Regions from separate parts of the Homo sapiens genome. Here all the other regions are linked to region 1. The links are contacts of gene promoters, found by promoter capture Hi-C in human tissues and cell types (Jung and others, 2019). All regions are on one chromosome and are shown on one strand. The core of a region is centred on a gene start or on the middle of the fragment in contact, and the rest is flanking DNA. Distances in the headings are between cores, read along the strand shown.

Region 1 (2,749 bases), core at 116-2,615:
AGGATGAAAGATAAAAGGGCCCTGAATAAGACCATCATTAGTGGGGAGGAGCCTGACCCTGCATAGGCAGAAAAGCAGCTTCAGCAGGGCCCAGGGTCTACAGGGCAGCAGCCTGCAGGGTGTTGAGGAAGGAGCTGCCCTGGGCTGCTGCCAGATGTCAGTAATTATAAGGCTATGTGGGTCTGCAGACAGCTCATTAAAGACGCTTGATCTGCGTGAAACCAGGAAGCAGAACTCAGCCTCTTTGCCACTTTCTGTAAGAAATCCAACCACATCAAACACTTTGGGGTTTTTATGCAGTTTCCTGAATGTTGGGGTGATCCCAGGGAGCGGCCTCATCCTACTGTGCTCAGCACACGGTTGTCTCCTTACCCTTCCTTGTCTCTTTCCCTCGATTCTACCCCCTCCCACTTCCCCTTCCTCACTGGCCCAGGCCACATCCAGCCTTCGATAGCCCCAAGTCATCCATCAAAGCATTTCTCCGGCAAAAAGAAACCTACCCCACCGGCTTCCATGAAAATAAAATCCCCTCTATTTCATTAACAAAAGACCTCAGATGCCTTGAATTCCAGCACCTTCAAGCCCAGAATCTTAGACTTTGAGCTGGAATGGCCCTGAAGAATAATTGAGTCCAATCCCTTTAGTTTGTAGGTAGAAACACCAGGGTTCCAGGAGGGGAGAGGTCTTGTCCAAGGTCACGGGACACCCATGGCCACCAGGCCTCTAAGCTCCTGGCTGGAGGCCACTCACAAAGTCAGGGCAGATGGGCCTAGCTTCTGAGTCAGAACCAGCTCTCCCCTTTTTCTTATCTACCTCCTCTCAAGAGTCTAGTGTCCACCAAGGAAGTCTAGTGGCCCTGAAGGAGGATCATGGACCTCTGCCTCTTTAGATGCCTGCAGAACAGAGTGGAGCTGTGGGCCCAGGAGTCTTCTGCTCTCACCCAGGAGGGGAGAGGGAGCCACAGACTGACCCGGCACTGCAGCGTGCAACCATGTACTTCGGGGTCCTGGCGCTGAGCCTGTTTTTTCTCATTTGAGGGTTGTTGTGAGGGCTAAGAATGGCCAACCATAAATCCGAGTTCCCTCAGTCTTCTCTCTTTCCCCGTTCTTTTTCTTGCCAGGCTTGTGACCTTTCTGAGCCTCAGTTTCTCCACAGTCCCATTCGCAACTCCGTGTTTCCAAGGTCTCTTGGCAGGAGCCACTCCCACAGTGAACCCCTCTAGGTGCAATTACAGGATGATTTTGTGTCTCGTGGGTGTCGCTGCTAGGGTGGAGGGCCACGCCTCCTCTTTTGAATTCTGACTTTCCTGCCTAGGAGTGTCCCAAGGTTTTCCTTGTTAAAATTGGTCTGGCTGGCTGCTGTGACGCGCCACACTGTCCTGACGGTGCACACACTGCTGTGTGGAGGAACAGAGGAGTCCAGCTGGCCTTCACATGGCAGGTAAGTGGGCAGAGCCTGGGGCCTTGGGACACCAGGGCTCATGAGGGGGGCTTCAAGAAACACGGGTCTGTGGGATGACGTTTGATCATCGATTGTTAGGATTTTACAGCTGGATAGTCCACCATGAACACATGAACTCTTCGTGTGGATTCATGAGGCCCAGGATGAAAAAGCCAGCTTTAAGCCACCCAGCAAGGCCATGGCCCAGGCTGGCTCAGGCGCTGTCTCCTGGGCTGGGGCCAGGTCTCACCCCTGTGCCTCGGAGGACTGAAGGAGGCAGGCACAGGAAGGCAGGGGCAGAAAAAAGAAAATCTCCTTGCACCCCATGCACATTCCATGGATCCAGAGACGTTTCTGGGCATAGTTGGGAATTGTGGCCTGCGTGGGAAGGAGTGAGAGGCCCCCACCGGCTGCATCCTCGCCTGATTCCCACCCCAAGCACTTGAGGGCAAGAGCAGCTCTGGCTCAAGTGAAAACAGCTATATGACCTTGAGCAAGAAAATTTGCCCTTGGTACCTCTGTTTTCTGATCTGTGTAATGGGGATTATAATGCAAATTATCTCACAGCCTTGCTGTGAGGAGTTGGTGAGACCACGTGTGCTGTTCTCCCACCACACATCTCAAGTGGGGACTTGTAAACAGTAGACTCAGAAAATGTGGGTCGGGCACAGTGGCTCACGCCTCTAATCCCAGCATTTTGGGAGGCTGAAGGGGGTGGAATTCTTGAGCTCAGGAGTTTGAGACCAGCCTGGGCAATGTGGCAAAACCCCGTCTCTACAAAAAAATACAACAATTAGCTAGGCATGGTGGGGAACACCCAAAGTCCCAGCTACTTGGGAGGCTGAGGTGAGAGGATCGCTTGAGCTTAGGAGGTAGAGGCTACAGTGAGCCAAGATGGTGCCACTGCACTGCAGGCTGGGCAACAGAGTGAGACCCTGTCTCAAAAAAAAAAGAAAGTAAGATAATGTGTCCCCCACGACCTCAATATAGTGAGCAGCAAACTCCCTCTGCAAGAACTTGTCTTAGATGCTGGGGCCCGGTAATGAGCAAGTCAGCAGAACCAGGGGTCCTACACTCACAGGTATTCAAGGGGTGTTTCTGAGTCTGTGTCTGCCAGTTTTAATTGTTCAGCATTATGTGACAGTTTTATGAATCAAATATTTTTTTAACTTTCAAAGGCAGATATTTGAATTTCCTCATCATAGTCTAGCTTCCTCTTCATATTTCCTCCTGGCAGTTAACAGCATTGCTGGACGTGTTGGGCCCTTCAGGCTCCTAGGATAGGTCTGTTCTGAAGACCAGGCCTTGC
Region 2 (2,500 bases), core at 1-2,500, 170 kb before region 1:
GTGCCCCTTCCGGCGTTTCTCCCGCGTCCTTCACCATGGCAACTCGGGCGTCGGGAGCGTGGGCTGCGAGCCGAGTGGGTGGGGGAGCCGCCGGGCTCTATCCGCCAGCCCACGAGAAGTGACGCAGGTGACGGGAGGCCGCAGGGACCTGAGGGCGGAGAGGGGAATTCAGAAAGTGCCGGGCGGCGGCTTCCGCTTCCTCTGCGGGGTCTCTGGGTGGTCGTGGCTGGGAGCTGCCGGGGCCCGGTGGCCGTGCGCCTCTGCTCCGGGCAAGCTCTCCCTGCAAGGCCCGGGCGGCGGCAGGGGGCAGTAGCGGCCCGCGATGCTCAGAGGCTCGCTGGCACGGAGCTCCCGGGCTGGGGCGTCCAGATCTGGAGAAGCCGGGGGCCTTGGTCACACTCAGAGCTGACGTCCAGTGCGGCCCTTGCTGAGGACTCGAGCGAACAGATCTCTACCCAGCCCCCGCCCCACGCGCACCCAGCCTGGGTCAGCTCGCCCTGCCCGCAGCCACGCAGCTGGTGGCTAAGCGCGGGCTCCGGGTTCAGGCTGCCTTGAGCTCTGTTGGTTCCCTCTGAAAGTGCTGATAATGATAGCAGGTATCTTGGGATTGCTTTGAGTATTAAACGAGTTAATCGTACTTAGTACAATTTCTGGACTTAGTTTCTAGCACGTGGGAAGTGCTCATGGGCTTGCCTGGGGCAAGTTAGTTGACCTCTCAACCTTGCCTCATTAAAAAGTGGGGATAATAATAGTACCCACTTAATACCGTTATAATAATTACAGTAGTTAATATTTGTAAAGCCCCTTGCCTTCAAGAACTTAGGACATTAAAAAAAAGATTGTGAAGTCCCTAGAATGGTGCCAGGCACATAGTAAGCTGCCTCTATTATTACCATGGTCATATTGTTGTTATCACTATGTTAAATAAAATTTATAAGAGGCTATTGGTTTGGACTGAGCTCCTGCACTATGCCCAACAGATCAACCCAACATGGAGTCACTTATGCTGAAGTTCCGTGCCACCAAGCTGAAACTAAGTTGCTTATTTGACTTTCCTAGAAATTAGGAGAGAGAGACAGTTAATATAGCCAAATGCCCAAGTAAACCAGCTTTAGCTGGCATGATGAGGAAGTCCTCTCTGCTTTAACCTTTACAAGGAAAATAACTTTGAAACAACCAATTCGCTTTTTGTTCTGTGTTTCTGCTTTCTTCAGCCCTTTTCTGTCTATAAAGCCAGCCTCCTCAGCTCAGCTCATCAGAGCACTCATTCTGTTTTATAGAACGAGGCATCGGCTGATTCTAGAATGCAAATATAAGCCAATTAAGATTTTAAACTAAATTTCTTGTAATTTTTGTCTTTTGACAACTATTATCGTCTGTTTGCCTTGTGAGGTTGGAAAGGATTGCACTTGTCCTGCTACAAGGACTCTTAGTCTCTGGCTGGATTACAGAAACATTTGCCTGCATTTCTCCTTTTATTTCCCAAAGTTTTTCAGCGTCTTACATGGTTCTGTAGAAGAGGCAGGATCGTGTCCTTAAAAGACCACTGGGCTGTGAGTCAGGTGGATTTTGGTCTTGATAATGCTACTTGGGCAGGTCACTGTTTCCTCATCCATCTGTAAGCCTCTTTCAACAAAGGGTAGCTGGTATTATCTATTATGCATGTTTAGCCTTTCCGGTAAGGTAATATATTTAGTAAAACTAAATTAGCATCTGTCAGCAACTCTCCAGGGTAGTAGGAGAAGGTGGCAGGTGCTTTGAGGAAGTTACAGATGAGAAGCTATGGGATTCTGAGAAGGGAGAGTAAGCTTCTTAATTTATACTTTAATTTCTAATAAGTAGAAATGTCAAGATGTACGGGGGTCAAATGAGAATGATTCTACCCCTCCACCCCACTAAAAAGTCTGGGAAAGTGAATTTTCCCCTCTGAGGCCTTCTTATTTCTCAGTTGGAAATAAAATGTATGTTGGCAGCTACATTCATTATTGCTTGCAGTGTAATCCGGCCCCTGTTATGGATTCCCAGACTTGGGCTCCTGGACTGACTTCTTCCATTGGCAAGAACATCATATTCACCATATTCTTCTCTTTCTCTCTCTCTCTCTTTTTTTTTTTTTTTTTTTTTGAGACAGTCTCGCTCTGTCACCCAGGCTGGAGTGCAGTGGCATGATCTTGGCTTACTGCAACCTGCAACCTCTGCCTCCCCGGCTCAAGCAACTCTTGTGCCTCAGCTTCCCAAGTAGTTACAGGCATGCACCACCATGACCGGCTAAATTTTTGTATTTTTTAGTAGAGATGGGGTTTCACCATGTTGGCCAGTCTGGTCTTGAACTCCTAATCTCAAATCTGCCCGCCTTGGCTGCTTCCCAAAGTGCCGGGATTGCAGGTGTGAGCCACTGTGCCTGGCCCTTTGTTTTTTGTTTGTTTGTTTTGGAGACAGGGTCTCACCCTGTTGTCCAGGCTGGAGTGCAGTGGCACAGTCACAGCTCACTGTAGCCTCG
Region 3 (2,749 bases), core at 186-2,685, 160 kb after region 1:
CAGACACATCCCACCACGCCCGGCTAATTTTTGCATTTTTAGTAGAGATGGGGTTTCACCATGTTGGCCAGACTGGTCCGGAACTCCCAACCCTAGGTGATCCGTCTGCCTTGGCCTCCCAAAATTCTGGGATTACAGGCGTGAACCACCACGCCCAGCCACAGACCGCTTTTCAGAACATAGACATTAAATCCATAAAATAAAACACTAGGATTACAAAGGAGACCAATGATCCTGAAATAGGCATCAAAATCACTTTAAATATCTTTCATATAATGACAATATATGCTTCCTAATTAAATAACAAGATTTCATGGCAGGTCTCTAACTATCATAATTTTGAAGTTGTGATAACATGTAAGATATTTTGAGACATCCCCAGTGGTTTAATTGGGAAAAAAAATAACTGTGACTTTTGCTGAGACAAAAATCACATCTTTGCTTACATTCATGATTGAGGGAAATGCTAAATCGCAGTTAAGGCTAGGAAAAGTGAAAGTGTAGTATTTTCTCCATCACTATTCACAAACCCACAGAATTCCATCCACAGCTCTGGGGGTTCCAGGGACTCCAGATTAAGAACTCCACACTCTGAGACCTTATGACTGCCTTCCAGAGGGTCCCTCTGACACTTTAGTGATGGTTTTCAAAGCAGCCAAATCTGTGCCTCCCTGAAGCCAGGGAGGAAAAGCTGCTGAGGGAGGGGGCGGGGGCTGAGCGGGAACATTCATCTGTGTGGGCTCAGGACGCCTGCAGCAGGATCCACAGTGCAGGCTCCCAGGGCCTGGCACAGACTGACTGATTCCAACGCCCAGTGCCACTCCTGGGAGTATGCATTTTATTTTTAAAAATTTATTATTATTATTTTTCTTTTTGTGGAGATGGGGTCTCACTACGTTGCACAGGCTGGTCTTGAGCTCTTGGGCTCAAGCAATCCTCCTGCCTCTGCCTTCCTAAGTGCTGAGATTACAGGTGTGAACCACCACATGCCAGAATCTGCATTTTAAACAGAAGCCCAAGTAATAACTTAAACAAACATTCTAGAATTTCCCTGGTGCTTTGTCCCAATCAGGGACTCAAGATAGTGGGAGAGGGCCTGGGATGCTCCTCACACCTCCTCTGGCTAGAGTGCCAGCGGCATCATTGCCAGGAGATAAGCCTGCAGCTCCTGGCCCCTCCAGGGCCCCTCATGTATAACTGATGCCTGAAACATGAGGCCATGCTGCCTCTTTGCAGGGAAACCTGAGAAGAGGAGTGTGTGGCCGGATTGATGGGCCGGGAACTCGTCGCCTTCCTTCACCCGTCTCTCTCCCCCAAACTTCACCCACCTCCACATTCAATCTCAAACCAAGAAGCCCCGCCTGCTGTCAGGTCTAGGAAGGGAGGCCAGCCACCATGAGGGCAGGAAAGCAGCCCAGGCTGAAGGCGTGCATACAGGAGCACGCTGCGTGAGCCTGTGCAGGACCCCAGCAGTGCTGCTGACCATGAGCCACCAGGTAAAGGGCCTGAAAGAGGAAGGTGAGTCCACGTCCTGATCCTGCGGGGCCCGCCCACAGGGTTCCTGGGCAGCAGCAGGGGATGGGGGAAGCACATATGGTGTTCAGAGGCATAGGGAGGAGCTGGGTTTGAGTCCAGGGCCTGTCCCCTGTGCGCTGAGCGACCTCGGCTGGTTATTCAACCTCTCTGATCCTCACGCATGAGATGGGGGTAGTCATCACCTCCTTGCAGGGCTACTGGAAGGATTCAAGACAACCTGTGCACAGCACCTGTGTTCAGGCCAGCACTGGAGACTGTCACGGCCGATGCATGCTCCTCAGAGCCTGCTGGGGCGTCTCAGCCACCTATTGTCTCGGTTAGGGTTGCCTGTTCCGAGCAAGCCCCTCAGCAGATTTCTATCTGTCTCTGTCTCTGTGCAGGGCAGGGGGTGGGGGATGTTCTGACCTCATGACTGACAGTATCAGACAAATGTGACAGGCAGGGGACTCTATAATTTGCTGAGTAAAATCATTGGAGCTGGGTCCCAGTTTGAGGCAGCCACAAATCAGCTGAGGGGTCCCACAGTGACCGGGGGTCTGCAGGGAGGGGGACTCACCAGAGGCCAGCCATTTGTCAGCAATCCTGTCTCTTACAGCACGAGGCGGAGTGAAAGGGCGGGTGAAGAGCGGCTCTCCACACACAGGTGAGATGGGGTGGTGGGGTCTCTGGGGAGCCTGCAGTGCCTGGGTGCCCTCTGCTTAGCCCAACAGTCCAGCCACCCATCCAACATTCTCCTTCATCTCCTTCCCTCTCATTCAACACCCTGCATGGAGCCTTCCTGGGAGGCAAGGTGTTTAACATGGGAGGGGGCAGAGTACCACTCAGAGAAGGTGCTGCTCAGCCCTCGGTGTCAGGGGAGACTCCCAGGGTTAGTGACACTCTGAGCTGAGCCTTGGGAAGCAGTGAACATTCACCAGACAGAGGGCAGGGAAGCTCGGTGCAGGCTTCTGGCGGGTGGTGTGGCCAGATTCACATCCAGGCCCCCGGACTCTAGGAGGAACACTCTTAACCTCCAAAAAGTAGTAGGCATAATGGGTGCTCCATCACCTTCCCACTGGGAATGTGACCACAGCTCTCCCGTGAGCCGGTGAGGGAGCCAACTTGCTCCAGGAGAAGTGGGAGAGCCCAAGGAAGCCATAGGCGGGAGAGAAAACCCTTGGTTGAGACTGAGGGTTCAGGGGAGAGGGGCAGAAGCCACACTCACAGGCTGGGC
Region 4 (2,749 bases), core at 137-2,636, 130 kb before region 1:
TGTTGTCGTTGTCGTTGTTGTTGTTGTTGTTGAGACAGGGTCTCGCTCTGTTGTCCAGGCTGGAGTGCAGAGGCTCGATCTCGGCTCACTGCAACCTCTGTCTCCCAGGTTCTTGTGCCTCAGCCTCCTGAGTAGCTGGGATTGCACATGCGCACCAACATGCATATTTTTTGTATTTTTAGTAGAGAAAGGGTTTCACCATATTGGCCAGGCTGGGCTCGAACTCCTGAGCTCAAGCTATCTGCCTGTCTCAGCCTCCCAAATTGCTGGGATTACAGGCATGAGCCACCGTGCCTGGCCTTCTACACACACATCTAAAAAGAAAGGAAAGTGAATGGAAAATAGAGAAGAAAAGAGAAAAATAACACAAAAAAAGAGTGAGGCTGAAAAGGAAAAGAAGAAAACGTTGTCTGAGGATTTTAAAAACATTGTAGAGAAAATAAATTGTTGTATAATAATGTCATAAGAAGTAAAAATAAATACACAAAATCATGGAATGCCCTGAACTTGTACTTTGAGGAGATCATTCTAGTCCCAGACTCTGGATGCAAGACAACCCCACCAAAGTATTCAGCAAACCCTATGTTTTTGTTTTTGTTTTTTGAGACGGAGTCTCGCTCTGTCGCCCAGGCTGGAGTGCAGTGGCAAGATCTTGGCTCACTGCAACCTCCACCTCCCAGGTTCAAGCGATTCTCCAGCCTCAGCCTCCCGAGTAGCTGGGATTACAGTCACTCACCACCAGGCGCAGTTAACGTTTGTATTTTTTAGTAGAGACTGGGTTTCACCAAGCTGGCCAGGCTGGTCTCAAACTACTGACCTCAGGTGATCCACCCACCTTGGCCTCCCAGAGTGTGGGATTACAGGCATGAGCCACCGCACCTGGCTGCAAACCCTATTTTCTTTCTTTCTCTCGCTTTCTCTTTCTTTCTTTCTTTTTCTTTCTTTCTTCCTTCCTTTCTTTCTTTCTTCCTTTCTCTCGCCTTCTCTTTCTTTCTCTTTCTTTCTTTCTTCCTTTCTTTATTTCTTTCTTCCTTTCTCTCTCTCTCTCTTTCTTTCTTTTCTTTTTTTTTCGGAGATGGGATCTAGCTATGCTGCCCAGACCGGTTTCAAACTCCTGGGTTCATGCAGTCCCCCTGCCTCAACCACCCAAATCATTGGGATTATAGGCATAAGCCACTACACCCAGCCTATTTTAACTTTTCAAAATAGCAAAATTCTTTATTCAAAATGAAGCCTTGCTTAGAAGCCCAATTAAGACTCAGAAATTGAGCTACTGTGAGCCTAGTGGGTCTGGGGTCATACCCTGCTTCCCCATACTCTTGAGGTTCCATGAAGCACAAGTGAAAACCACTGATTTAGCACCATCTCTTTTATTTTTCAGATGATGAAATCAAGGCCCAGCTAACTAAAGTTTCATAGTCTTAGAAATAGAACCCATTTATTTGGAATCCCAGCTCATTTGCTTTTTTTTTTTTTTTTTTTCTTTTTGAGACAGAGTCTCACTTCATTGCCCAGGCTGGAGTGCAGTGGCACAATCTCGGCTCACTGCAACCTCTGCCTCCTGAGTTCAAGCAATTCTCCTGCCTCAACCTCCCAAGTAGCTGGGAAATACAGATGTCCGCCACCATGCCCAGCTAATTTTTGTATTTTTGGTAGAGATGAGGTTTCGCCATGTTGTCCAGGCTGGTCTTGAACTCCTGACCTCAGTTGATCCACATGCCCCAGCCTCCCAAAGTGTTGAGATTACAGGCGTGAGCCACTGCAACTGGCCTCATTTTGTTCTTGTGCTATTTTCAGTAAATTCTAAGTGTCCCTTGAAGAAAATGAGTGAAAGCCAACATTTCCTGGTAATCTCCTGTTAAGTACATTTATTCTTAAAACGGATTTTTTTTAAAAAAGACAAACAAATGATCTGGCTTTTGGAAAATTCTCCAAAGTAAGCCATGCTGTTGCATCTCATTATGGACAATCAGCTTGTTCTTTTTCTTTAGAGATAGGGTCTTGGTCTGTTTCCCAGGCCAGAGTCCTGTGGTGCAATCATAGCTCACTGTTGCCTTGAACTCCTGGGCTTAAGCAATCTTCCCACCTCAGCCTCCCAGGTAGCTGGGACTCCAGGCACACACCACCACAGGGGACACTAATTTTTTTATTTTTGTAGAGACGGGGTCTCACTATCTTGCCCCGGCTGGTCTCAAACTCCTGGGCTCAAGTGATCCTCCTGCCTTGGCCTCCCTAAGTGCTAGAATTACAGACTTGAACCACTGTACCCAACCCAGACTGTTCTTTAGGGTCCAGCAGCTCATTCTCCTTCCAGCCTTAAGTTCTCTGGCCATCCTGCTCTCCCTTCTACCCTTGTGAGAGTTTGCACCTTTCCTCCGTGACAGCTATCTAGCCTGGCTTTGGGCTGAGGTGGTGAACATGCTTATTTTACTTCAAAGGCAGGTACTGTAGCTCATTTATGCTCTACTCTGTGCAATGCCTAGCTGAGCACCTTCAAGGTCCAGCTAATGTTCACTGAGTTTTATTGAAATGGATGGGCTTCGCAGACCGATTGTGTTAATCGGAGAGAGGAGGTTAGAGTCTAGTGAACACTGAGAAGTTGCCTCAAAAAACATCTCTTTCACCTGCTGAGTCTGTGGATGATATTTTAAAAAATTAAGAAAAAACATCTCTTCTATGTCCCCTTTAATTTCACAGCCTGGAAGCTGTTTATAAAATTGATGACAAAAAAAGAATAGGCTCTTTATCT

What was found. Contacts are between HindIII fragments. The study calls those that stand out against the background at their distance.
Region 2: a fragment that was not itself captured here is called in contact with the fragment with the promoter of TGM6 in region 1 in 2 of the 25 tissues and cell types used here (IMR-90 fibroblasts and mesendoderm cells).
Region 3: the fragment with the promoter of TMC2 here is called in contact with the fragment with the promoter of TGM6 in region 1 in 1 of the 25 tissues and cell types used here (mesendoderm cells).
Region 4: a contact is called between a fragment that was not itself captured here and the fragment with the promoter of TGM6 in region 1, in 4 of the 25 tissues and cell types used here (heart left ventricle, liver, mesendoderm cells and 1 more).

What each region holds. Positions count from the first base shown.
Region 1 is chr20:2,379,536-2,382,284 of GRCh38, forward strand. TGM6 (transglutaminase 6) reads left to right here and starts at 1,366. Exons shown (of 13, transcript NM_198994.3): 1 at 1,366-1,440. The coding sequence starts at 1,434. The HindIII fragment of the contact is 30,296 bases long and covers 1-2,749 here.
Region 2 is chr20:2,207,393-2,209,892 of GRCh38, forward strand. It overlaps LINC03086 (long intergenic non-protein coding RNA 3086), which reads left to right. Exons shown (of 2, transcript NR_161305.1): 1 at 1-127. Among named protein-coding and RNA genes, the nearest start is that of LINC03086, 1.7 kb to the left of the region's middle. RefSeq lists an enhancer at 1-127. The HindIII fragment of the contact is 5,318 bases long and covers 1-2,500 here.
Region 3 is chr20:2,535,138-2,537,886 of GRCh38, forward strand. TMC2 (transmembrane channel like 2) reads left to right here and starts at 1,436. Exons shown (of 20, transcript NM_080751.3): 1 at 1,436-1,518; 2 at 2,132-2,179. The coding sequence starts at 1,485. The region is part of intron 2 of LOC105372504 (a long non-coding RNA gene); the gene reads right to left. The HindIII fragment of the contact is 10,824 bases long and covers 1-2,749 here.
Region 4 is chr20:2,248,071-2,250,819 of GRCh38, forward strand. No RefSeq gene overlaps it. Among named protein-coding and RNA genes, the nearest start is that of LINC03086, 43 kb to the left of the region's middle. The HindIII fragment of the contact is 7,144 bases long and covers 1-2,749 here.